Linked DNA regions of Homo sapiens: regions 1, 2, 3, 4, 6 and 7 are each linked to region 5. Evidence: promoter capture Hi-C in 16 types of primary human blood cells and fetal thymus (Javierre and others, 2016). All regions are on one chromosome and are shown on one strand. The core of a region is centred on a gene start or on the middle of the fragment in contact, and the rest is flanking DNA. Distances in the headings are between cores, read along the strand shown. Region 1 overlaps ARMC8 (armadillo repeat containing 8). Region 2 overlaps SLC25A36 (solute carrier family 25 member 36). Region 3 overlaps ARMC8 (armadillo repeat containing 8). Region 4 has its middle 85 kb from the start of SLC25A36. Region 5 holds the start of COPB2 (coat protein complex I subunit beta 2). Region 6 overlaps ARMC8 (armadillo repeat containing 8). Region 7 has its middle 110 kb from the start of SLC25A36.

Region 1 (3,844 bases), core at 618-3,117, 1.2 Mb after region 5:
GAGCATGGTGGTGGGCGCCTGTAATCCCTGCTACTCGGGAGGCTGAGGCAGGAGAATTATTTGAACCCGGGAGGTGGAGGTTGCGGTGAGCCGAGATCGCGCCATTGCACTGCAGCCTGGGCAAAAAGAGTGAAACTCCGTCTCAAAAAAAAAAAAAAAAAAGATTACTTAAAGACAGATAATGTTGAAAGTAATCCACTTTTCATTCTCTTGACCATGTACAATTAATTTTCAGACAGTAACAAAGTTTAAGAAAGAAGTCAGAAAGAATAAATATTTCTATCTGGAGAAAAGGAAGCTTTATCAAATCACACTACACTATCTCCATAAGATCAGTATTACTCTGAGATAAAGAAAAAAAAATGTTGGGTGATCTGTCCCCTTTAAACTATAAACAGATTTTAGTATTTTAAGTAGCAATCACGTTTACTAGAATGTTATCACTCACATTCTCTTGTCTGAGTTAGGAATTTTAGTCCCTCTCTCTCTTCTACTTTAGTTTGAACTGTCTCCTCTGTTTTTTTCCCCCTTTCTCTTCTTTGAGGAGAATTATCTTTTTTTTTAAGTTGTTTTAAATTGGAGCTAATAACAACTAACCACTTAAGTGCCAACTGATCCACAACGTATCAGACATTGAATTTTATAATTCTGATTTAATTCTCACATCAACCTGGCAATATGGGCAGTGTTATCTTTACAGATGATGAAATTGAGGCTCAATGAAATTACAAAACTTGTCCAAGCACACCACTAGAAAGGGACCATAACAGAAAATGTCAGAATTAGGAATTCAAACCACTATGGTCCAACTCCAAACCCCACGCTCCTTCTACTCTACCATTCCTTCACACAAACATTTCTTTATGTCTAGCTGACAGCTAATTAGGTCTCAAACTGGTAGTTTTTCAAAAGACACTAAGGCTATCAAACTACATTTTAGCTGCTTTGTCATAATTCTATCTTTCCCACTTTTATCATTTGGTATTTTATCAATTTTTGAGAAACTAGTGTTCTTTGGTAAGTAAAAAATTTCTCAAAGTGACAACATTCGAATCAGCTACTCATATCAGATAGAACTCTACCAGTCTATCACACAGAATTCTTGATTACTAAACAGCTTTCTCCTAAACATAGTAGCAGTGATATCATCTTTTAATACCATTTATTGAACACTTAATAAGTCTAACATTCTCAACCATTTATTGAGTAATTTTAAGTAATACTTAGAATTATCTATATACGGAGCTATCTGGTTATATGTGGAGAGTATCTGTCTAAGGAAGAGTGTTAAGTAAAACCTGCCCCCTTGACGAACTTGTGTGTGTAGGTACAACCCAAACTGATTTATTTAATAGATGGATTTAATAAACCATTTTTCCTGGTAATAATTAAACTAGTCTAAAAAGGAGTGATTAAATAATTATAAAGTCTCCTACTTAAGGGAACAAAGGCAAAGTTAACATAATGAGAACACCAGAAATACCACCGTTTTTTGTAAACTGAGAAGCCGTGAAAATAAGCGTCAAGTATCTCGGTGGATCCTAACCAGCTTCCCACCTTCCCTTCCAGCTCAATTTGAATAGCCAAGCAGTTTTACAGCACTTTTATTTTACCTCCCTTTATAAATTCACAACTCCAAAGCCTACAATGCCTTTGGGGAGAGAGGCTTTAAGAACTGCAGTCCGAAGAAACTTGTATAAACAAAGCATCCCAGCCTTGCCATGGCTAAGCACAAGTTAAAGTACTATTTGGCTGACAATGCTTATGGGATTAGAGAAAAAGAAAGAGGCCTCCCTCATGGGCGCCCTCATCATTACCCAAATGTATCTTGACCCTTTTTTGTGTCTTTCTTCCCATAGACACAGTTCAGGCCTGTGGATCCTTCACATTTCCCAACCCCATGATAAGCCTTAGTCTAGACCTTCCTCCTTAGAACTAATGCGCTAAGAGTATGATAATCTGAAACTCAAAGGAAAGGGAATAAATCTGAAATCTTATCCTACTTGCTTCTCTTAATTTTTTAAGAGCATAATTACCTCTGGTATGTTGCTTAAAAATGTTTCCTCTCATTAAACATGAAATTTTGGAGAAAAAAAGGCATTATGGTTATTAAGAGTTTAAATTTTCTGACAGCTTTCTAAATTCGAAATTTAAAACATCAACAGGAGACTCAATCTTGGTGACAGTTAATGAGTTAACCAAAAACAAAACAAAGCAAAACAAAAAACCCTACTGGTCTATTCTTTCACTGCATTCCAATTATGAAAGACCATCAATCTTATTCTCCTGCTTTTGTGGATATTAAAGAAGCAAAAGCATTCTCCAAAGAAAACATTTTTTTAATGTGAAACAAGTATTCTACAAAAAATGAAGCTAACCATGTCAGTTAACAACTATTCAAAAGACAATTCTTTATGGTAAAATATTAAACGTCATGAATGTCAAGCAGTCTTTCTAGAAAGAAGCCAAATGAAAGAAAAAAGGTATAACCCTGTATTTTCAAAATTAAAATATGTGGCAGATTAAAACATGAAAACAAACAACTTTTTGATAGACTCTTAAATACATACTACTTACATGACACCTTGTAGAACTTTCTGGGGATCAGGGTCAAATAGCCTGTCAACATAGTGGCGACTGCTAGCTGTTACTTCCTAGAAAGTGGGGGGAAAAATTATGACATCTGAAGCCATGCAAATCACAAATTCACAGCATCACCCACAATATCAAGTGACTAGATAATTTAACTTAAGGTAGATGCATTAAAATTTATATGAAATACTTAGTTTTGCCTCCTCATGATATGGGATACTTAAGCAGGTGACTTTTCTCTCTCAGGTATCAAAATAATGGGAAACTGTAGTGTTCAGTTCAAGATGTCAAAGATCAATATTTTTCTTCTAAGAATGCCCAATTTCAAAAGTAAGAATGTCCATGGTATACATTTTACTATGTCTTAAAACTAGCAGGAGAGTTTGGAAAATCAACGTAATTACAAAGCACATCACTTTGTTCATTCAGAAGAATCATCAGGAAGATATTAAGTATATTTTTGTAAATACTTTATTACATTAGTCTGAAAAAAAGCTCATGACAAAGATAAACAGTAAGACAGAAAAGAAAGAAGACTCCTAGTTCTCACTAAACACATAGCTAGACAGTGGGACCTTTGTGGCGAGCCCTAGAAGTTTTGCCAACAGAAGACCTAGGCAAATATGTTAGCATATACACTTAGCAGCAAGCTAAGTTTCTTCACTAACTGCTGGGTGTCATGTACGTATAATTAATAGATAGGAATATTACTTCTATAAATTAGTATACACAAAAGGACAAAATCTGGCTCTCAGCCAGGGAAGAGTGAGGACTCCATGAAACAGTCTGTAAGGGGTAGTCTAGGTACAAGAGGAAATCCTTAGACTAATGTAGAGAAGCTTCATTGCTGGAGGCAGAAGTAAAAATAAATAAAGGAGTTGTCACACTTTCTGTGAAGGAAAACAATTAAGAATTAGAGTGATCTGTAGGCCACCCAAGCTGTCTCAACTGAACTGGATAAGGGTGGGTAGAATTAGAAAGAGTACAAAGGGAAGACACTTACCTCCTTTTCATTTGTATTGTGAAGTTTTTCTATTGTGTTATTTCTTGTAATACTTATTTTGGAGGGTAACTCTTTTTTAATATTTAATTTTTGATGCTTCATATTATTTAAAATAAAGAATCCATATTTAAGAACCAGAGAAAAAGTTTTGTCCCCTGCTTGTTTTTTCTGATGCCTGCTGAAATATCTTTATATACTCCCCCGCCGTTAGCAATAAGTTCTTATAGGGAGGAAGAAATAACTTTTCCA
Region 2 (3,900 bases), core at 1,229-3,728, 1.6 Mb before region 5:
CAGATATTAGGGAGAATTTTCAATGGAAAATCAAAGTTCGTGGCTTTGTCTAACATGCATAGCAGCAAATGATTCCAGAACCAGATTGGTCAAACCAACTGTTTATCTTTATGGCAGGGTAAAGACCTAAAACTAGTTATTTTAATTCAGAATCATATATACTTATCAGTGATGACAGAAACAGAGAGTTCCTGGAAACATTTCTATAGTAAGCATGTACACATAGCCAGTGTCTAAATTTCAGGTGCTGTCTAGTGTGAATTATGTAGAATAATAAACAATTTTAAAAAATACACATAGTAACTGAATTGTCAATAATAATACATCACTCACAAAAATTTCAGCATTTGAGCACAGGACAAAATGAATACTTTACCAAGAATTGCCGACACATTTCAGACAGAAGCCAAAACATGCAGCAAAAAGGGAAAAGGCACTAACAGAAATTGAGGAGAGAAGAGTAAATTACAGCTCCATAACTTATTTATAGTGTAATTATGGTTGGATTCTTAAAACTGTTAACAATGATCACTAAACATTCAGTGGACTACACAAGGCAATATAAATATATTACTTGTACCCTAGCATGTAAACTCCTGACTACAAAAATGTCAACTGATGACAGATTTTACATATACCTAATTTGGTTTATATCGATAAACGTAAAAATCATCTAATCAATGAAAAGCACATTAATCATCAACTTTTCACTACAAACTTATAATTCAATATTAAGCCTCTAGGTTTCAGAAAGTTTTTTTTTTTTTTAATATTATACATTCATACCTGCCATTGCAGCTGAAATCATATGTACTTGGGTAGAATCAGGATCAAATACATCATTCAACTTTTCCTTGCAGTTTGAATAAGCAGCAAAGTATATTGCTCTAAAATAGAGATTTAGATTTATCAATAAGCATGTTCTTAATGCGTAAGATTTACATATAAATTGATCTTCATAATTTTAGAATGGAGAAATTTAAAAACCATAAAGTCCTAGCCACATTCTCATGTAACATTAGATTTACACTTTTCATAAATACTCTGAAGTACTTTCTGTATTGACTCATTAAAATAAGACAACATCAAATGTAAAATTCCTACCATTCATCCTCAAACAGACCCCCTTCCAATACTCTGACAGCCACTTAACTCACTAAAACTTGGTAACCAAGAAGATAAAAAGAAAAAATGAAATTAAAAAAAAATAAAAACAAAATAATAACTAATTTAAACAAAAAGTATTTAAGATTTTAATGTTTAGAAACTAAATGAATGAATAAGGCTGTAAGGCTGGTGTAATGCTAAGGCTAAATATAGTTACTGAAGATAAGTAGATATGGTATGAGCACTTAACATATAATTTTCTTCATGGGGAGAAGAGGGTGAAGCAGATCCAACTGATTAAAGTATATGCTAAACAATTTTAAGATACTGTGGTATATTCTAATTATACTACACACACAGTAATTCACATTATCCTTAAACAGACAAAACAATTCCAACAAAAGAAATCAGACCCATCAGGTCAGAATGTTTTCCAATGTTTGTAAACACTGAGTGAAATTTAATTATTTCCCTCATTGTTAACTTACTGACTACGATTTTATGCATCCCCACTACCACCTCTATGTTAACTTCCCATGCTTTGAATTATTTGCTTGCTGTATGAAATATCCAGTTATTTCCCCAAAAATCCTGATTACTCATCCAATAAGAAACAGAGTGACAAATACAAATGAGAATTTCACTGTTGTACCTTTTTTAATGTACTTAAGAAAAAAGGAAAATTAATATAACTGAAAATGAAACATTCTAATTTATGAGAAAGAAAAACATAAGATACACTTGATGCCAAGTTGGGAAGAGGAATAAACAATGCATTTCTAGAAACTGGTAAGAAAAAAAGAAATCCTAATGAGAAAATGGCCATGAAATATATATAGGCAATTCACAGGAGAGATATACAAATGACAAATTACAAGAAAGTATGACTGCACCAAAAATTAAATAAATCATATTAAAACAGTGAAAAATCCCTCTTAGTCCATTTGGTAAGTATTTAAAAAAGATGGACAGTAGCCAGCATTGGTAAGGCTATGGATAAGGGATAAAAATCCAGTATGCCTTTTTTTTTTTTTTTTTTTTTTTTTTTTTTGAGACGGAGCCTCGCTCTTTTGCCCAGGCCGGAGTGCAGTGGCCCTATATTGGCTCACTGCAAGCTCCGCCTCCCGGGTTCACGCCATTCTCCTGCCTCAGCCTCCTGAGCAGCTGGGACTACAGGCGACCGCCACCACACCCGGCTAATTTTTTTATATTTTTAGTAGAGATGGGGTTTCACTGTGTTAGCCAGGATGGTCTCGATCTCCTGACCTTGTGATCCACCCGCCTTGGCCTCCCAAAGTGCTGGGATTACAGGTGTGAGCCACTCTGCCCGGTCAATATTCACTAGTCTTAAATATGCATATGCCCTTTTATCCAGAAATTCTAATTTTAGGTGACCATCCTAAAAAAATATACTTCCTAAAGTATTCAAAGATAAAGGTTGAGGTATGTTTACTGAACCATTGTTTATACAATGAAAATCTAAAAATAATCTAAATGTATAATAAGGAAATGTTTATTAGTGCTAGAATGCTATACAATTTTAAAAAAATCACCCCACATATTATCATGGAAAAACTTCAGTTAGATTAGGTTAAACATTTAGTATTATTCAGTTTATGTAAAGCACAATAAAGTATACATGTTTTTATGTATATGATAACCGAGAAAAATTACTGGAAGAATATACATGAACTGTCTATTAATGGTGTTTTTTTTCTTTTAACTTGTTTTATAATTAGGATGCAATTTTGGATATTTTCTTAAAGAGAGAAAAGAACCCATAAAAAGTTGAAACGTAATAAATAACAAGACATGGATCTGGTACATGGTTTGGATACAGAAAGCATTTTCACTCTAAATATGAACTTTATACAGTGTTCTATCATGGAAGAGGTTAACAATCTAAGATGCAATGGTGTCAGAGAAAAATGACGAAGTTATGTTTTCATGTCCTTTTGGCTTAATAGGGACTGCAACCATTCTATCTGTTTGGTTTGTCCCATAAGCCAAACAATGACTTAGTTTTAAGAGTTCCAGATCTTCCCCTTTCTAACTGCTAGTTCCTTTGGTTGTTCCTTTAGTTATTAGTTCCTTTGCTTGTTCTCTGTCTTTTGACTTTTTTAAAAACTACTTCACAATGGTCTTACTATGTGGTCCTTTGCACCTACACATGGTGCCATGCCCATCCTTTTAGATGGTTACTGATACCTGTTTGTCACACCATAGTTCTTTATCCTTATCACCTTGACACCTCTTCAGCATCTTCCTTGAATAGCTTCCTTTTTATTATGGTAAAGGCCATGTACATCACTTACTGCCCTTCAACGATACACAAATTCTCAGGTTTTTAGACTTTTTGTCCCTTTCTTCAACCCTGTTCTAAGCCCTGACATCCTTCCTAGTCCTTTGGTTCTATTTTCTATCTTGTTTCTTTGAAGTTTAATTTCTATGTGGAAAGTGAGAAAGGAACACTAACTTCAGGTGGAGCGCACAGCAGGACAGCTATGAAAAGCAGAAAAAGTCGAGATATCCTAAATGCCTTTTGGCCCAAGGAAAATATTTTGTTTAAAAGAATGCTTACCTTTCTTAGAGTCAAAATTTTTCAAGATGCAAGAGCTGGTTTAGTTAAACTCACAAATCTAGCAAACACTTATCTCAAAATATCAGGAGTATTTTGCAGCCTTAGCCCTGTGTAGATTTTCAATTCTGCACCCCCAAATTCTTCTAACTCCTATGGTCAGATGAGAGGATAAGCATCTCCCCAGAAGACTCAATACACTGCCACTAGCTACG
Region 3 (3,665 bases), core at 652-3,151, 1.1 Mb after region 5:
GTTGCTCATGTATCTTTGTATTGGTAAGATACAGTGTCAGTGTGAAAAAATGACCAGAAGGAAAACAGACAAGGCAACTGGTTAAATGTATGTAACCCATCACTTCTACTGGAAAAACACCACTACTGAAAGAAGAGCAGACACATAAGTTTAATACCCAGAGAGTAGAGTACATTACTAATACAAATACCAGTGAAGGTTATTTTAGGCCCTTCTTAAGACAGAGTAAAGATATACCCTTAATAGTTTGCTTTATTTTCAAAGTTAAAAGCCAAATGAACAACTGCCTACCAAATGAGGTTTTTTGAAACTCAAAAGCATGAGGGAGAGGTCAAAAGGAGAATAGTTACCATTGGAACCACTGGCATGAAAAATACAGTTACATTCATGAAACAGTACTGGCTACTAATTAAGAGGCAATGTTCTCTCTACCATGACCTCCTTGAATAAACTTTCTCTTACAGAATGTTCATCTCCTATGCTTAAAGAAATGGATAGGGCAAACAGGCTGAGATGCAACAAGTCAAAATAAATACCGATCTATTCTAAGGAACTTAGGTTTTCAGAAAAAGCACAATTTGGCCTTTTTGGTCCCAAATTCAAGATTAAATGATGCTTTAGCTGTCACTAGCAGGCCCAAAGCACAGTATGAAACTGGGAAAAAGAGAAGATAGGGAAAGGTAACAAAATAGACTGTGGTGGAAAGTAACATGGGACAACTTAGTCTCCTGTAACAAAAAGATTACTCCTGACCTAAAGAATGAGAATGTAACAACAGAGATGATTCCATGACCAAGAATAAGATTATACGGTTATGTCAATACCCAGCTTGGAGAATCCACTACTTTTGAGGTTTAGTTGGGGAGTTAGGATGCAATTTTCTTTATTGCTTATCTGCTCAGTAAAAACTTTCTGACAATAAACATTAAACAACTTGGATTCAAAAATTCACAAAGCAATATTATCTATGTTACCAAAGATAAAAGAACCTTTATTTAAAAGGGCTTTAAGCTGTAGTTATCAATTGGTTCAAAACTGTGAACAGTAAGAAAAACTTTAGAAAAATCTCCCTTGAGCTGCTAAAAAAGGAAAATAACATACCCTTTTAATATCAGTGATGGCACTCACTGAGCTGGGATACTTGAAATAATCAGCAAGCATGGCAATGAGGTGATCAGTTATGCTAGCGATTCTCTGTAGCTCAACATCTGGTTCAATCAGATAGGCAAGTGTCTCAGCTCCTTCAACTCTCTCCTCTAGTAATCTCTCCTTACTGCACATTCGAACCAAACAAGGTAATGTCTGAAAGGTAGTGAGATTAATTATTTGCTTTTTGGTAAAGGTAAAAGCTTAAGCATATAGTGACTGAATCAACTCAATAGCTTTTATCAGGAGTAATGTTTATGATCATATATTTCCTTTACTGACTTCTAGAGAATAAAAGATTTTTTTAAAATGCAAAAACAAGCAAAATTCAGTACACATTAATAATTTGTACTGGCACATTAAACTCTATTCGTACGTCAAAGTATATTAATACAAATTCTAATTAGGCTTTTGGGACCGATAAGACAAGTTTTATTGTACAACTTTGTAAAAGACATTTAAGAATCCCTAACAAATCATGTCTGATGGTTCTGCCCTATCTATCTATTTATTTACCTAAAAAAGACCCAGCAGTTTAATCAGGAATGATTTTGCCTTAGGAAAAGTATGCTATCTCTTCCTTAGTGAGTAATATCGTTTATTTTTTGGTTTGGGGAGTCATACCTACAGTTGCCAAAACAAAATACAGCTTTAAAACTGCAGTGATCTTACCATTACTCAGATTCCACCAGTTCTACTATAATGCAACTGAAATGTATCACAGTTGCTAGGTTTTCCCAGTAACTTGCTGGAATTAGCAGTGGTATCCATGAGTCCAATTTTACTTCTGAGGTCCCTCAAAAATCTTGGCAATGGTTTGGTAACTTATCTACATTAGGTTCTCAATAAAAATATTACAGACATTTACTATTTCTTTTTCTTTTTTTTTGAGACGGAGTCTCGCTCTGTCGCCCAGGCTGGAGTGCAATGGCACGATCTCGGCTCACTGCAACCTCTGCCTCCTGGATTCAAGCAATTCTCCTGCCTCAGCCTTCTGAGTAGCTGGAATTACAGGCACCCACCACCACTCCTGGCTAATTTTTTATTTTTAGTAGAGATGGGGATTCACCAGGTTGGCCAGGCTGGTCTCGAACGACATTTACTATTTCTAAGCCTGACGGATCCACTTGAAAGGACAATGTGGAAGTATAAATTGAAATGTTATCATTATAGAAAGTCTTCCTCAAATACTGCAGGCAACTGTGCTTTGCTCTTTTATATATAATAAGTTCCTATTATATCTTTTACCACAGAGCTTAGCACTTCATCGTTCACTACTAATTTCCTATTAGGCTAGTAGAAGCTTTATAATTCAACCCTAGGTTTCCAAGGGGAAGGCCCTATTCTTTTTTCCCTAACATTACTAGTTACTAATATTTATTGATACCATAAATTCATGAATTATGTAATCTAATGCTCATGACTACTATGTGAAGAATATACTACTAACATTTTACCAATGCAGAAAAAGAGGAAGGTTAGAGAAGTAAATAAATCAAGATAAATGCTATGGAAGTCCGTGGCACTCTATGAAGAGTTGTTTACTTAGGGAGTGTTCAGATCTCATTAAATTAATTCTCTTCCCCAAAGACTAAAGCAAATATTAGTCTTCTTTGTGCTCTTTTATCCTTGGGATCACCTTTTGAACAATGATAATGTGAGATCTCATATTTATAAAATGACACATCATCAATTTACTTATACTTAATTTTTTATAGCTAATAAGACATTTTAATGTATTTAATATATTGTTATCCTCACAATAACCCTGTGCATAGATGAGCAGGAATTATTGCTTCAATTTTCATAATCTGGAGTCCGAGGCATCAAAAGAATAAAGGATGTACAGTCAGAGGTGGGAGTGCTAAAACCAGAATCCAGGTTTTAGGACTTTTAGGGCTGGTCTTTTCTCCAGGTTTTTCTAAATTCAAGTTGTATATGACATATCACAATGACAATGCTTGTTTTCATGTGTTATCTACTTATTCTCTTTCATTATGCCTTTTGATTATCAGCTATGAGAATGATATAAAGTCTTTTTCTGCAAAAGTGGCAAATCGTCTGCCTCTAAAACTGTAGTACAAATTTAATGACAATCAAGAACGAAATATATTTTCTGTTTCACCTGAATTGTACACTTTTACAATTTCCACATCCTCCTAATTACCATAAAATGAAAGGCTGTGACAATGAAATAATTATTTCACGCTGACTTTCGAAACACATCTAAAATCAATTTTTAAAAACTATATGACATCCACTGAAAAGAAAGCATGGTCTTTCAATATTATTCTACGCCATGCACATATATCATAATGATAAATGTGTAAAATGAAATATGAGTATCAATACTGATATTTAACACATAACTGGATAATTTTCACATTTTAAAGATAATTAATTAGCTTACCTTTAATACAATACAGTTATCATCTGTCCGAATTGCTCCAGCTCTACACATGTAAGTTAAACTGGAATAAGACAGCAGAAAATAAGTTTTTGCTTGGAGTTTAAAGCTT
Region 4 (3,833 bases), core at 164-2,663, 1.5 Mb before region 5:
AAAGCAGACTACCTGCAAGGCTGTTTTCTCCACGTGTGGTCAGGATCCTCTGCACTGGGACCTCCCAGGGGCCATCTCATGGTGCTCAGGAACAGGTACACCCCTGAATGAGACCACTGCTCCAGGCCAGATCAATCCATCCACTGAAATCATTTTTGTTTTTGCCTGGATGTTGTCTTCCATTATGTCACCTTTTTTTTTCATTAGTGGCTTGATTGAAATATAATTTACATACCATAAAATTCATTCATTTAAAGTGTACAAGTCAGTGGTTTTTAGTATATTCACAGAAGTATGCAACCATCATCACAATAAATTTTGCAACAGTCTAATCATTTCCCAAAGAAACACTGTACCCTGTAGCTGTCACTTTCCAATCTCTCTAGCCCTCGGCAAGCACTATTCTGCTTTCTATCTTTATAGATTTACCTCTTCTGGACATTTCACGTAAATGAAATCATAAATGTGACTGTCTTCTTTCACTTTGCATAATGTTTTGAAGATTCATGCATGTTGTAGCATGAGTATTTCATTCTTTTTTTATGACAAAATAAATTTCCATCCTATGAATATACCACATTTATGCACTCATCACTTGATGGGCATTTGGATTGTTCCCACTTTTTAGCTATTATGAATAATGCCCTGAACATAAGCATTCAAGCTTTTTTGTGGACATGTATGTTTTTATTTCTTTAGGATATAATATACCTAGAAGGGGAATTTTTGAATCAAATGATAACTCTATGTTTAACTTTTGGCAAACTGCCACACTGTTTTCCAAAGTGGCTGTGTCATTTTTATGTTTCCAGTAGCAACAAATGAAGATTCTGATTTCTCGACATCCAACACTCGTTATTATATGATGTTCTTATTACAATTATCCTAGTGGATGTGAAGTGGATAATACCAGTTGCTATGAGTTGAATTGTATGTGTCCCTCCAAAATTTATATATTGGAACTTAAACCCCAAGATGATGGTATTGAGAGGTGGGGCCTTTGGGGGAAGTGATTAAGTCATGAGGGCTCTTTCCTTGTGAATGGAATTAATGTCCTTGTAAAGATTTCAGAGAGCTGCCTAGCCCTTTCATTCCTTCTGCCTTGTGAGAGTATAGTGTTCATCCTTCTGCCATGAGGGGGTACAGTGACAAGGTGCCATCTTTGGAGCAAAGAGCAAGCCCTTACCAGACATAGTATCTGCTGTCCCCTGGGTTTTGGACATCTCAGTCTCCAGAATTGTGAGAGATAAATTTCTGTTCTTTATCAATTATCCAGTTTCAGGCATTCTGTGATAGCAGCCCCAAATGAACTAAGACACCCTATCTCCTAATACCATCACCTTGGGAGTTAGCAAAAAATATGAATTTTGGAGAATGCATACACTAACCTCATTACTTTCTGCTCTGTAGGGCAGGGAGGAGGCCTTACAGGGCATCTGAGTAGGATGAGGAAGAGCTGTTTCTGAGCAGGCTCAAGCTAGGCAGACAAAGCAATTGTAAATTGCTAGGTGACCTCAGTAGTTGTAAATTTGAATGATATTCTAATGAATAGGTGTGAAAAGCATTTCCCAGGGTTGGGGGTCACCAGTGTGGAAGCAGACACAGAATGTAGGAATAGGCAATTGAGAAAGCCCTATCAATCAGCCTCAGCATGCTTATCTTGCACCTTTTCAGCACATGCACTCCCAGCCTGGACTGGACCAAATTGCATTTACTATTTGCGTAGGGCATGGTTTCCAATCCATTTATCAAGTTCCTAGCACAGTGGCTAAGAGCATTACAACTGAATTCATGCTGCTTGGCTTCAAATCCCTACTCTATTAGCCATGGCAACTAGAGGGAGTCACTCAGCACTTCTAAGCTCTAGGGTCTTTGTCTGTAAAATGGGAACATCAACACTCCTACCTCGTAGGCTTGTGAGACTGTAAAAAGGCAATGAATGCATGTACCTTATTTGGAGACTGTACAAATGGAGTACTCAATTTTTCCTCCCACGCTTCCATCACAACTTGCTCTCAATGAATAATTTAACATATGAATTTAAGTAACCTGCCTTCTCTAATTGCAGAAGGAAAGACTTATGTCCTGGTGTAGAGAAAGCCATCAACAGTGGGAGAGAGAGGTTACTTGGAGAGGTTTGAAGGGTATCTGCAGAAGCTTCTCATCCTGGCAACTTCTCTGCCGCTTCCACCTTCACACAAAGTTGACCCAGATGCTTAGAGGACTCCCTTCCACTGATGACCTTTGCCCCATCACACAAGATGGAGTAGCTATACAAGAAGTGATCATTAACGTTGCTTGATCTAGTGCTATGCTAACAAATTCAAATCTAGCCTGATTCAGATAATATAATAGTAAAAAGAATGAAATTGTATTAGTTTGTTCTCATGCTGCTAATAAAGATATAGCTGAAACTGGGTAATTTATAAAGGAAAGACGTTTAATTGAATCACAGTTCCATATGGCTGGGGAGGCCTCACAATCATAGCAGGAAGCAAGGAGAATCAAAACCATGTCTTACATGGCGGCAGGCAAAAAGAGAGCTTGTGTAGGAGAACTGTCCTTTATAAAACCATCAGATTTTGTGAGACTTATTCACTACTACAAGAACAGCATGGTCAAACCCGCATCCACGATTTAATTACCTCCCACTGGGTCCCTCCCATGACAAGTGGGAATTATGGGAGCTAAAATTTAAGATGAGATTTGGGTGGGGACACAGCCAAACCATAACAGAAATATTTTTAAAAGCTCCACATTGTGTCTAGATCTAGAAAATAATAAAAACACTTTTAATTTTATTGAAATGTATAAGGAAAATCACAAATGAAAGACTACAGGGATTTTATGTTATGGAAAACACAGAGAGGCAGGTAAATAATTTTAAAAAGTTCATTTTGAGTTAATATCTCAACAGCTCAATTTATGATGACTCATAAATACAATTTATAAACTATGAGTATCTCGTAATCTTATCACATATATGATATTCCACAATTAAAATTTTTTTTCACACTTAGACATCTCTATAAATAAACGGCTATCATTTAGATGTATAAGGAGAAACTCTGTAACACATGAAAATAACAAACACAAAAAATTTTGCTCCAAAATACACAGAAAAGCATGGTTATCTCTGGTCTTACTTAGGACCTTTGAAACCACCTTTGCAAAAATTGTAACAGTGAGAAAATTATGACAATGAAAGGGATCTGACCTGACTCCATCTTGCTTCTAACCTCCAAACTGCCCTTATTCATTCCTGCGTGTAGGCCAGAATAACTTTCGGAGGAATTTAGCTTATAGTTTAACTTTGAAACAAAGATGATAACAGCCCTTTCCTGAAAGAAAGCCCTTTCTTGCCTGGGGACCAGACTGTCTTTTTAAGACTAACAAATTAGACACAAAATTAGAAATTATGGGTTAGGAATCAAGCAGCTAGAGGTCACAAGATTCCAAACCTCCCCTGTTACTCCTAGGGATAACATTACTATTGTAAAATCTATGACTGGTGCTGGAGATATTTTTCAGACCCTGCATTCTGGTGCACCAGCTGACATCACCCAGACTGACAATCTGGCTCAGCCAGTTCTGCGATCTCACCCAGGAACAGAAGACAGCAAGAAGAACCACTTTGACCACCTGTGATTTCATCTCAGGCCCAACCAATCAGTACTTCCCACTCCCTCGCCCCCTACCTGCCAAATTATCCTTAAGAAATCCCAGTCTCTGAACTTTTGGGGAGATTGATTTCAGTGATAAAACTCCAGTCTCTTGTTTAGCCATGTCTGTGAGAGTTAAAATCTTTTTCTGTGGCAATTCACCTGTCTTGA
Region 5 (3,933 bases), core at 321-2,820:
ATAAAAAAAAAAAAAATGGAAGGATCTTTAGAAACCATGTAGCTGGATTTTTTTTAAGATGATGAAAACTGAGGCCCATGAAGAGAGTCACATTAGCTCAAGGCTCCTACTAAAGCCAAATAATTTCGTGCAAAATCATCTCCCTCTGATTATCATTATCTACACACACAAATACATAATTTTTCTTTTTGCCTTTCTGAAAATCTGGAGGTCTGAAAAGACTTTAAGATTTCTCTCAAGTTAAAAATACACGTTTGTACGTGTAACCAGAGGGCAAGTTTTCTATGGTCCACATGTTTTCTTAAAAAAAAAAAAAAAAAGGAAATACAGGAGATGTGCAGTGCGTGTGACAGGCAAATGTTCTCGAACTTTATTGTGTAGTGTAACCCCTATGGCACAGGCCCTTAGAATTCAGCCACATTAATGAAGAGATATTTTTATGTAGTAGAAAGAGCACAAACTTTGAGGTGTTTTGTTTTGAGACAGAGTCTTGCTCTGTTGCCCAGGCTGGAGTGCAGTGGCGCGATCTCAGCTCACTGCAACCTCCACCTCCTGGGTTCTAAGCGATTCTCCTGTCAGCCTCTGGAACAGCTTGGATTACAGGCGCCCGCCACCACGCCAGGCTAATTTTGTATTTTTAATAGAGACGGGGTTTCACCATGTTGGCCAGGCTGGTCTCGAACTCCTGACCTCAGGTGATCCACCCGTTTCGGCCTCCCAAAGTGCTGGGATTACAGGCGTGAGCCACCGCGCCCGGCCCAACTTTGAGGTTTTATCTGCCACTTACTATGCAGTCTTGGCTAGAACACTTAACTTCTTTGAGCCCGAGTTTCCTCATCATTAAATGGAGATAATTCAGGTTTGATGTGAAGATTTGAGAAGAAGGTATGTCTGACACACTGCCGAAGATCGATAAATATTTGTTGAATGAATAACACAGCCAGCCGAAGCTCAACAAAAGACACATACACAAACACACCCACACGGTTGGGTAGTTGCCGTCTCCCGGGGAGCTCCAGAAGTGTAAGCTCTCAGCCCTCCCTCTGACTTCAGAAGCCTGAAGCTACTAAGCCCGCAGCCCGGTGCGTCTCTTCGCAGCCTTAATCAGTGCCCGGGCAAAGGCCTGCAGAGAATTCTCTGGGCCTCGCACCAGGCCCCAAGAACACACTGGAGACTCGTTTCGCCTTCTCCCTCGCCGTTTCCCCCCTCCAGGGCCAGAGTCCGAGGAAGCCCGATAGCGGTTCTCGGCCTCCGAAACACAACTACAACACTGGGGAGCTTGCCCTGCAGTTAGCGTCCAGCGGGGATTAGGCACTTCGTTTTCCTCATCGTTTCAATCTCTATCTTCTGGTCGGGGTCCAAGCTCAGCGGCACCACGTCACGGCCCTTAGTGGTCTAGGCCACACCCCTCCTTCCCGACAGCCTCAAGTCCACTACCAGCGGTCTGGAAGGCCACGTTGCCTAGGAAACTGGGGCGGGGCTTGGGAAACGACGGCCCTGCGCGCAGTTTGCGCAGGCGCTCCGGCCCTGGCCTCTGACTATCGCGAGAATCGGCTCCCGGAAGTTCCACGTCAGTCAGTCTGACGGTCAGTGGATCGGTGGGTTTATCTCAAGGCCTGAGTAGCCGGTAACAAACGAGGGTTCCCGGGATTGGACCGACGCAGCCATGGTAGGTCCAGATCCCGTAGAAGGGAGCGGGGTCCCATAGGTTACGGCCGATTCCTGGAGCTTCTGGACTGAGGGCCGCGGTAAGCAGTGGTCTGGGCTCCCGCTGCGGCCGCCGCCTCAGGCCTTGCGGGGTCTTGGTCGTTTGATTCCAGGAAGGGAGAAGGCGGTGGGGCCTAGGGGACCGGGGTGATTTGGGGAGGCAAAGCCTGCTAGTGAGGGGTTTTGTCTCCCCTGGCGCTTGTGGCGCTTGCCAGAGCTCCTGCAGTCTGCAGCGGGATCGGTGGTGTAGGGAAACACAGAAGCCGAATGTGTTGAACTCCGTAGGAGGCTTTGGTAAAACTAAAGTTTGCCTTTAAAACGGTGGTAGTTAATCTACACTCCTGTTGGGCTTATTCTGGGGATAGTGTGTGCTGGCTACAAACTATAAACAAGCAAAGAAGCCAAAAACAAATGTATATGGAGTCAAAAATGGAATTTCAAATGCTTTGATATCTCAGCTGTTAGGTTTCTAAGGGGAGAAGAAGGGTTGGGAGGAAGGGGGTGCTGTTTATAACACTGGCTGGTGTGCTTTTATGCATTTGCAAATCCAGTGGCTGGTAAGAATAGTAATTGTTAGAGCACTTTGTTATTATCACCGTAACCCTAAAAAACGCCCTAGACTAGTTTGCACAAGAGTGTTATAATAATAAGGAAAGAAAACGATAGTATAAGAATATCTTCCGTCTCTATTGAAAATGCAAAAAAAAAAAAAAGAAATTAGCCGGGCGTGGTGGCGGGCCCCTGTAGTCCCAGCTACTCAGGAGGCTGAGGCAGGAGAATCGCTTGAACCCGGGAGGCAGAGGCTGCAGTGAGCCGAGGTCGCACCACTGCACTCCAGCCTGGGACAGAGCAAGACTCCGTCTCAAAAAAAAAAAAAAAAAAACTTGTTATGAAGCACAGAATCAAACATTTTGGAGCTTGAAGACGCTAGGGATTAAGTCCCTCATCTTAAGTTAAAAAATTTTTTTAAATTATGTTTCTACAAGGTTAATTGTGGCAAAGTTGGAACTAGGAAAAAGTTAGGAATACTCCCAGGGAAAATGCACAGAGAAACAAACATTTTTGCATAAAATTCAGTGCATTCATTCACAGACACCCCCCCCCACAATCCATGGACCTTCTTTTTTTTTTTAATTTGTTTTATAAAAAATATGGAACGCTTCACGGATTTGCGTGTCATACTTGCGCAGGGGCCACGCTAATCTCCTCTCTATGTGCTGCCGAAGCTAGCACTATCCGTGGACTTTCTTGGGCACCCAGGTTACAGTCCCTGAACAAGACCTCAAGCCTCTTAATTAGAGCACTTCGTATTACTAACTACCTGATGTAGTTTGGGTCTGCTGTGGTTGCAGTAATGGACGTTTTTGGAAAAGGCTCTTGGATCTGCCTAATTTCATTTTCTTTTGCCGTCTTTACATTTACCAGTGTATTTCTATAATGAAATATTGCCTTCATTCTTTATATATTTTAAATCCTTTGTGGAAAATACAAAACGTGAATTCATTCATTTGTACATTTACCATAGAATATTTAGTGTCTGCCATGCACTTTGCTAAACATGGCTGCCTAATTCTCACAGCAGCTGGGAGATAGAGTTATATGTTTGTGAAGTGGTTACTGTAGGTCAGGCACTGCTCTAACTGGCTAACTCTGAATTTAATTCTTACAGCACTAAGAGGTAGATAATAATAATATTCCTGTTTTACATAAGTCAAACTTGAAAGAGGTTAAGTAAATTTGCCCACTATTGCACATCTGAAATGAGTGGTGGAACTGAAATTTAAATCCATCATGGCTTTCTAGTCTTGTGTTATGGTATCTGTTCTTAAACCCCCATACTCAAATATATAAGGTGATCTGGAGATAAAGACATGTATAAGCAATGACCCTGGCTTTAAGGAGGATCTACTCTAGAAAGCAAGAAAAGATGTGTACACAAGTGTACCATGAACAGTTAAAATGAAATCCTATAGGATTCCCTAGGAAAGAATGCTTCAGGCTAGGGTAACTAGAAAGGTCTTACTGGTGGCAGTGGCATTTAAGCTGAGTCCTAAATGCATCCAGCTTTTGGAAGGTGGAGGGATATATTTAAAGTTGAGGATACAGTGTGAGCATCCTAATCATCTTTGTCCCAAAGTACCTAGTACATTGTCTTATTCAAAATAGTCACTTAACTGTTGGGAGAAATATTATCACAAGAACCCTTGCCTGTTCGTTCTTTCTTTC
Region 6 (3,786 bases), core at 1,214-3,713, 1.1 Mb after region 5:
AAATATTGTTGAAATTAACAATGATCAGGGAAAATATCATCTATTAAGAACAGGGAACCACATTTTAGCTGTAGATTAGGAATGGTAATTTTTATCTGGTGTTTTAGTTTCCAAAACATTTACATATTGATCTACTCCTCGCCCTAGACCAAACCTAATTCCATTCTTACTGATATGCACAATCACTCTCTGTCCTCATTGTCACCTCTAGCCCCTAAATTCCTCCCTTTCTCAGTCTACCTACTCTTTGTGACTCCCTCATATCTTTTCCCCCTGGCATGGATGTCCTGCTCAGACACTCCACTTAGAAGACAGTTTCCCTTTTTCACTGTCCTCCCACCATTCATTACTCCTCCTCCAGATACCAACTGCTGATGTTGCTCTAGAAAAACCACCAAACATGACTGTTCTTTCCGTGTAAGCTATCCCACCTCAGCGGCACCCTCACTGCTGGTGACCAGCCTTGTAACCCCCTGGAGATGCCCATGTTCCTTATGGTAGCTACCTCTTACTTCAAATTCTTCTGCCTCCCTCATGCTCGCAGCCACTCTGTGCCCACCTCATCTTCGTAGGGACCTTGATTTTGGGGACACACATTGCAACTTCCCACTTCTGACGAAAGGTCTCCATGCTTTTGCTGTTTTCTTTACTCTTGTCAAGGTTGGGTACTTCAAGCTCAAAGCCTATCTACCTTGATCCAAAAACTACCTTTCCATAATGTTCTCACATCTTTACTCTGTCCTACCTCTCATTTTCAATCCTGTTTAAAAGACGTTTAAGTGTCCAAACTTTAACCTCTTGAAGCTAGTCCTCTCCCCACTTTCCATCTTTAAATGGGCATATATACAATAAAGGCTCTGTCCATCTCCATCTCTTATATATAACAATACTGTGACTTAAAAACCAACTCAGTATTGGAAATTTTCTAAAGTTCTGTCCTAGAGTTCTTTCCTGACCTCTAGCTCCATACTTCTGATTGCCTAATAAATATGACATGGATGTTCAGTGGAACTTCCCATCTATTACGCCTCATACTGAATTTGTCCTCCCACCCCCTAGCCTTGGCTAAACCTGCTTGTTCTCTGTGTCTTTCTGTTTTTGCTAACGGTATTTTAACATTCTCCCAGCCACCCAGGCCCTACATTTGTGCTAATTTTGACCCCAACTCTTCCTCCCTTACCACACAAAACCAAAACAATTTACTTAGCACTATACCTTATATTCATTCCTTTCGCATTCCATTAAACTAGTTGGGACCTTATTACTATTACCTTGGGGGTCATAGTAGTGTGTTTTCCAAATTACCTAATCTTCTGTGCTACAGCAACCATCAAAGACTGGCTGGGTTAGTTCAATCATGCACTAGTCACTGTTCTTGAAACAGACAAGGCCAAATCAGTACCTTCAATATGGGAAGGAAACAAAAGCCTAGGGCAAAAGTTTCAGGCAGTGGAGGACTAGATGCTTATGCCTGAAAGATCCTTCTGGCTTGGGAAATTATTTTTACTTAAGAATGAGAAGTGATAACTTGGGAGAAACAACTGCCTGTACTGGATATAGTTACATCATCAGAGAATGTGGTGGTGGTAGAAGTACGGATGGATTGAACACATGGTTACTCTCCAGAAAGAACTGAGAAATACTATTAGCATTGGCTCCAGATGCTTGCCCTGGGTGTGGCCAAGACTTGAAAGAGGTTTCTAGATAAGGTTTCCTGGCTACATTCAATCAAAGATGTAAATCTACCAAAGAACCAGAATGATGTAGCAATCATAGGCATTTAATAAAGTATATCTCAGTATAGCCATAGGTCACAAATCCCTGAAGTTGCTTAGCACCAAGAAAAAGCCTAATTCCACACAAGAGATGTGACAGAAAATTCTACAAGCTTAGTATGGGCTAAAGTCCAGACGGTAGCCTCTTCCCAAAGTCTGGAAGGCTGATATGAAAGAACCTGTGGAAAGGGAATAGGGTGATGATCAGAAATAAAATGAGTAGGTAGCCAGCCTAGTGGGTGAAGCAGGGGAAATGGAATGTTATGGAGTGGATATGCTGTATAATCTTGGGCAATTTACCTCTCTGGGCCTTCAGTAAAATGAGGAGATACAGTAATGATTATTTTATCTCCAATCTTTTGTAATCAGCAGGTGAATAAGGATCATGTTAGTCAGTCTGGACAAAACTACCATGTTGTTTAGAAGGAACTTGGGAAGAAGGCGGGTGAGGAGAGGCTGGAGAATGGTTCAGGTCTACTTAGAGTGCTAAAGGAGAAGGCAAGGAAAAGCAAACAGCGCAATTCCTACTTGCATTTCTATAATTATGTATTCAGCAAATATCTGAGTGCCCAGAGAGTGACAGGCATGGTTTTGAAACTCAAAAACAAAACGGTGAGGAAGAGAAAGCCCTTGCTTCTACCAAACTCACAGTATTGAATAAGCAAACATAATTTAAGTGTTTCAGTGCTATGGTGCTTGATTTCATGGTAGAAAGAACACCTTGGGAATGACAGGGACCATGGGGCCACACACTGAAACAAGTATCTACAAAGGGAAGGTAGGAAGACATCTTTTCTCAAGAACAGGAATTTTACAATCTAGGACAGTGGAAAAACATTAGGGCTCAATCACTGTAACATTAAGAGTGTAGCTTTGCGCTTTCTTTTAAAGTTTCTAGGGGTGTATGGTCCCTGATACTTTGGAGACAGAGTATAGCTATAAGGTGGCTGGTAAACGCTTTCCAAGTCAGGACATAAAACTATCTGGAGGTATCTTCCCCTCAGGCACAAGTTGACCCTTCTTAGATCATAGTCTAACAGAATGTCTATAGCAGAAGGCCTGAATCTGTAACTGAACTTGTAATGGAGATAATTCAGTAACCCTGCTAGGGTTCTAGAAAGCATGCTTGAATCTCTGGTCCACCTTCTCCATCAAGACATCAGTCTGGGAGTGAGAGTGAAAAACAATATAAAATTAGAATGTAAACTTTGAATTCCAAAAGGGTATGGACAATATGATCTAACCAGGGTTTTGCAAGCTTGAGGGCATGGAGACCGTCTGTGTATGGATACAAAGGGCACTATAGTGAATACACTGACAAAAATGAGGACAAAAATGTGATCACAGACAGGAAAAGGTTTGGAATCCAGTCCAGAGAAAAAATTTTCAGGTCAGCAGGGAAGGAGCTGGTAGTGGCTGCTGCCACAGCCCTCTGACCCATATGAAGGTTTAACAGTGCACCAGACAGCTTTTCAAACATGGGATTGGAAAACCAAGAGCAATAAAACATGTCCTCCGTGGTGCCTTTTAACGACCCCAGTACCGTGCTCCACAGCCTTGATATGATGGAGGGTGCCAAGTCCTAGCACCCTGCAAAAGCATCTTAGGTCCTTCCAGGATGTAAGAGCAATGCCAAGTAAAGCTGAAAGTTGTTCTCCCTCATGGTTCTTGTTGGAGACTCCTCGGCCATAGCTCAGCAAATATGCCCTGTGGCATAGCTGGTTGGATCTGCTAAAAAAGAAAAAGAGACAGTGCCCTCTGTTACACAGACACTGTGCCCAGCCAGAAGGGGTACTTGTAGTAGACTGAATCCTCAGAGTGGAGGAGGCCATCTTTCTTCCTAGGCTTTTCTAGGGGCCTGGGCTGTAAACTACAGAATTAAGTAACACAAAAAATGTTGCATCCTCAACTGACCGCTTTAGGTCAATGGATCAGGTATTGTGTACCTCCCTGCTGGTGTCTTTAGCTTTTATGACATGCTTTTGCGAAACTGTCTCTTGCATTGCTGCTC
Region 7 (3,820 bases), core at 978-3,477, 1.4 Mb before region 5:
GGTTTTCTTTAGTCACCCTTTATTATAGCTATTAATGTGTTTGCTTGTTGTAGTCCTTTGAATTTAGTGAAGTCTCAGAATTTAGACAACAAAGATTGCTGGAATTATATACAAAGTAAAAGCAAATATACTTTGGGCATAACATGAGGGACTCTCCCACAATTAGGATGATAATCAGTGCTCAGACCTTGTAATATCTGTTTCAGTTGCTTGGGAATCTGCTGCTTCTTGGATCTCAGCAGCACTCTGATTAGGAAAGGAAGCTGATTACTTACATTTCTGAGACATCAAATGTGTATTTAGTTTTGATTTTATATGTGCTTAATGATATTATTGGACTTGTAACATTGTGACTATAAAATGTTCCTACTATATAATTTGTTTTATCGTAAATATTGTAGAAAGTGTAAAGAAGACATTTGCCACAGCATTCTACTGCAGAGAAGGGTGTTTTTGTGTTCTCAATGCCCAGTTGTCCTAGTGTCTGGGGGAGGCACAGACATTTGCTATGCAGGCTGAGTACGTAGGGAAGGTTCTAAAGTTGTTAAGTGCAAGCTGCAAGATTCTAAGATTAATTGTGCTTCACTCTCCAGTGAGATTAATGTATTATAAATCATAGAGGCATATCCCATCAATCTGGTGCCTCGATGCAGGGAACATTATAACCCTTAACTCAGCAGAAACATACCTTCCATCCATTACAGCATCTCTCCTGGAATAAAGTATGTGCTCCTCAGATAGGGCCAGGGCAACGGACAGCATTTTAAAGACATCTTTGAGATAGCTGTTACAACAGGGAAACCATTTCTATGGCTCCTTGGTTTCACTCTACAACAATAACTTTTATAGACAGTACATATTTGGAGAAGTGTTTTCTGGACACTTAGTATCTGCACAGCCCTGGGGTAAGTTCTCTGGGGTGTATGAAAGGAAGAAAACTTATGATTCCTACTCTTGATGAGCCTACTGTTTGTTAGAATACTAACAGCATGATTTTGATGCTAATAGCTATTGTTTATCTAGCATTTACTATATGCATACCAATAGAATATACTAAGAAATTATTCATAGAATGTATTTTAAAATAAATGCCAACAAGGTTAGAGAAAGAAAAGATATGTACTGGCTGGAGTAAAGTCCCTATAGAAGTCGGGCCTGTGTTGAGCCTTATTGGTGGAAAGGCTTTAGAGAGGTGGGACAGGGTACATTTCCCAATGTAGGGTATATATTGCATGAGAAAAATGAGGTTAGATAAGCAGTGAATAAATACAAGAAAAGAGGCTTGGAAGTAGCTAGCAGAACCACAGAACAGGCAAGAGCCTCTTGCTGTGTACTTTTTCACCCTTCCAGGCTCCATCTGATATCAATTTCATTCCCCTCTGGGGACACCTTGCCTAGAGGAAGAGAATTCCCATAGGAACTCATCACAAGGAAGGTGAAAAGTGAATAACGCAATAAAGCTGGACAGGCAGGTCCTATAGGCTACACCAATAAAGTCATTTGACTACATTGTGCCAGCTAGGTTGTGTGTGCAGATACTTCTAGGGCCAAAGTTAGTTTGCCAAGATTTGGCAGGGAGATAAAACCAAGCTTCCTCCTCCCTTTCCTCTTCCTCCTTCCTTATTATAAAATAATATTATAAACTTATGACCCCTTCCTTCTCCTTTTAATTTATCCTCTTCCTTGACGCCAAGCTCAGCCCCCCTAGTTACAGCTTCATGCCATGCACGGCTCACTCAACTTCATTCATTTATTCATTCGACAGGTATTTATTGAGAATTCCATATGCATCCTCAGAAAATATACAGCCTTATAAGGAGGACAATTAAGAAGAAATTACAATAAATATGAGCATAGCATCCTCTATTTCTAACAGAGAGGTTTCTTTAAATTATTGAGGGGAGGAGGGCATCAGAAAAGAAATGACATACAAACTGAGACCAGAAGTATGAGTGGAGATGTTCTTTATCCTTCCCAAGCCTGTTGAGGGTACCTCTGTTTGCTCTGGGAAGCTGCCAGGCACTTTAAGGTTCTTGGCTGACTTTGGCTGCCACCACCAGCATACACAAGAAATTAATATATTTGTTCAATCAGTAAATATTTCTTGGGAAGTTCTAGTATCCAAACAGTGTTCTGCGCTGTGTGGATTCAGCTGTAAGCCAAATAGGCAAAGCACTTGCTGTCATGGAGCTTGCATTCTAGTAGGGATGGGCAGAGAACAAATAAATAAACAAAAATAGATAATATGTTAGGTGCTATGGAAAAAATAGCAGAGTAAAGTGATAGAATATGTGTTCTTGTATGTGTGTGTGGGTATACACTATTTTAAATAGGGTGGTCTGGGTTTCTCTGCTGAGGTGATATTTGAGCAAGAACTGATGAAAAGAGTGCGATGTGGCTTTCTGGGGAGGGGAGCAGCACTCTAGGCAAAGAGCACAACTAGAGCAAAGGTTTCTTGGAAGAAGTGTGCTAGGTGTGTTCAAGGAACTGCAGAAAGGCCAGGTGATGAGAGCTCAAGGAGGAGAGCAGAAGTGGATAAAGTTGTGGAGTTTCTGTCCCCATGGCAAGGTTTACATTTAAGAGCTGCTGTGTCGAGATATGACAGTAGAGGGGCAAGATCAATAATGAAGGAGGTCAATAAGGAGGCTATTGCAATGGTTCAGGCAAGAGATGGTGGTGGCTTGCTATGGTGGAAGCATGGGAAGTGGCAGGATTCTGGATATACATACAAGATAGAATGGATAGGTTTGCTGATGACTTGGATGCGGGTGTGAGAGAAGAAAGGGGTCAATGATCACTGAAAGGATTTTGTTCTAAGTCACTGATAAAACAGATTTGTCATTAATTGAGATGGGAAAAGCTTCAAAAAGAACAGGTTTTGGGGAGCAAAAATATGTTAAGTTTGTTATGCCTGGCTATCATTCAAGTGGAGATTTCACGTAGGCAGATCATCATACAAGCCTGGATTTCAAGGGAGTGTTTGGGAGTTGTTATTTAAAGCCGTGAGACAGATTGATCAGCAAGTGGGGGACTCTAAAGATAGAATAGATAAGGGCTGAGGGATGAAGCTGGGGGGCCTCCTTGCTTAGAAGTTGGGGAGATGAGAAGGATCCTGCAAAGGAGGTTGGGAGGGTGCAGCCAGAGAGGTAGAAAAAATAAGCAGTGTGTGCTGCCCTGGAAGCCAAGCAAGCATTTCAAAGAGGAGGAAATGACCACCTCTGTCAAATGCTGCTGAGAGGTCAATGGTGCAAAGACCAGAGGTCACTGATAACCCTGTCGCAGTAGGTTTGATGGAGTGATGGGTCCAAAGGCTGATAGGATGGGCCCAGAGAGGATGAGAGGAGGGAAGTGGAGAATGGCTATGGAGTCACCTCTTCCATGGAGTTGTGCCACAAAGAGGGGCAGAGAGATGAGCCTATAGTTGGTAGGGAAAGTGGGGTCAAGGGAGGACATTTCCCAGATGAGAGAAAAGCAACATGTTTATGGGCATCATTTAGTAGAGAGGGAAAGCAATGGTGCCAGTGGGAGTGACAACTGCAGGGATGATGGCCTTAGCAGGTGAGAGGCATGAAATCCCACAGCCAGTGGACAGGAGTAGGAATAGCTCATTCCTGCAACAGGAGGGCAGGTGGGTGGGTGGCTTTGGGGTGTGCAGTGCAGGAGTTCTCCTCTGATGGCTTTACGTTTCTCAGTGAAGTGAGCAGCTGGGTCCTCATCTGAGCATGGGGATGGGGAGGAGGTGATAAAGTTGTGGGTGGAGAGAAGGGATGAGGTGGTCTAGGAGATTGAGAGAGACCAGCTTGGAGGGAAGGCATGACTG

What was found. Contacts are between HindIII fragments. The CHiCAGO score rates a contact against its expected background, and 5 or more counts as called.
Region 1: a fragment that was not itself captured here is called in contact with the fragment with the promoter of COPB2 in region 5 in 1 of 17 cell types (naive CD8 T cells); the score reaches 5.3 in naive CD8 T cells.
Region 2: a contact is called between a fragment that was not itself captured here and the fragment with the promoter of COPB2 in region 5, in 3 of 17 cell types (naive B cells, naive CD4 T cells and total B cells). The highest score is 6.9, in naive B cells.
Region 3: a fragment that was not itself captured here is called in contact with the fragment with the promoter of COPB2 in region 5 in 3 of 17 cell types (total CD8 T cells, megakaryocytes and naive CD8 T cells); the score reaches 5.3 in total CD8 T cells.
Region 4: a fragment that was not itself captured here is called in contact with the fragment with the promoter of COPB2 in region 5 in 4 of 17 cell types (total B cells, naive B cells, naive CD4 T cells and 1 more); the score reaches 11.4 in total B cells.
Region 6: a fragment that was not itself captured here is called in contact with the fragment with the promoter of COPB2 in region 5 in 1 of 17 cell types (total CD8 T cells); the score reaches 5.2 in total CD8 T cells.
Region 7: a contact is called between a fragment that was not itself captured here and the fragment with the promoter of COPB2 in region 5, in 1 of 17 cell types (total B cells). The highest score is 6.9, in total B cells.

What each region holds. Positions count from the first base shown.
Region 1 is chr3:138,208,627-138,212,470 of GRCh38, reverse strand. ARMC8 (armadillo repeat containing 8) reads right to left here. Exons shown (of 22, transcript NM_001363941.2): 2 at 2,578-2,654. Among named protein-coding and RNA genes, the nearest start is that of ARMC8, 23 kb to the right of the region's middle. The HindIII fragment of the contact is 3,133 bases long and covers 301-3,433 here.
Region 2 is chr3:140,960,114-140,964,013 of GRCh38, reverse strand. SLC25A36 (solute carrier family 25 member 36) reads right to left here. Exons shown (of 7, transcript NM_001104647.3): 4 at 787-887. Among named protein-coding and RNA genes, the nearest start is that of SLC25A36, 20 kb to the right of the region's middle. The HindIII fragment of the contact is 5,552 bases long and covers 1-3,900 here.
Region 3 is chr3:138,239,420-138,243,084 of GRCh38, reverse strand. It overlaps ARMC8 (armadillo repeat containing 8), which reads right to left. Exons shown (of 22, transcript NM_001363941.2): 10 at 3,557-3,617; 11 at 1,102-1,302. Among named protein-coding and RNA genes, the nearest start is that of ARMC8, 54 kb to the right of the region's middle. The HindIII fragment of the contact is 1,100 bases long and covers 1,352-2,451 here.
Region 4 is chr3:140,854,899-140,858,731 of GRCh38, reverse strand. No RefSeq gene overlaps it. Among named protein-coding and RNA genes, the nearest start is that of SLC25A36, 85 kb to the left of the region's middle. The HindIII fragment of the contact is 1,493 bases long and covers 667-2,159 here.
Region 5 is chr3:139,387,284-139,391,216 of GRCh38, reverse strand. It overlaps COPB2 (coat protein complex I subunit beta 2), which reads left to right and starts at 1,570. Exons shown (of 22, transcript NM_004766.3): 1 at 1,570-1,669. The coding sequence starts at 1,667. COPB2-DT (COPB2 divergent transcript) reads right to left here and starts at 1,414. Exons shown (of 5, transcript NR_121609.1): 1 at 1,284-1,414. It also overlaps the pseudogene LOC124906339. RefSeq lists enhancers at 733-842, 722-1,284, 1,053-1,352, 1,285-1,846, 1,643-1,892. The HindIII fragment of the contact is 7,530 bases long and covers 1-3,933 here.
Region 6 is chr3:138,258,672-138,262,457 of GRCh38, reverse strand. All of the region lies in intron 12 of ARMC8 (armadillo repeat containing 8), which reads right to left. It also overlaps a transcript of NME9 not described here. Among named protein-coding and RNA genes, the nearest start is that of NME9, 69 kb to the left of the region's middle. The HindIII fragment of the contact is 1,145 bases long and covers 1,891-3,035 here.
Region 7 is chr3:140,828,235-140,832,054 of GRCh38, reverse strand. No RefSeq gene overlaps it. Among named protein-coding and RNA genes, the nearest start is that of SLC25A36, 110 kb to the left of the region's middle. The HindIII fragment of the contact is 1,270 bases long and covers 1,593-2,862 here.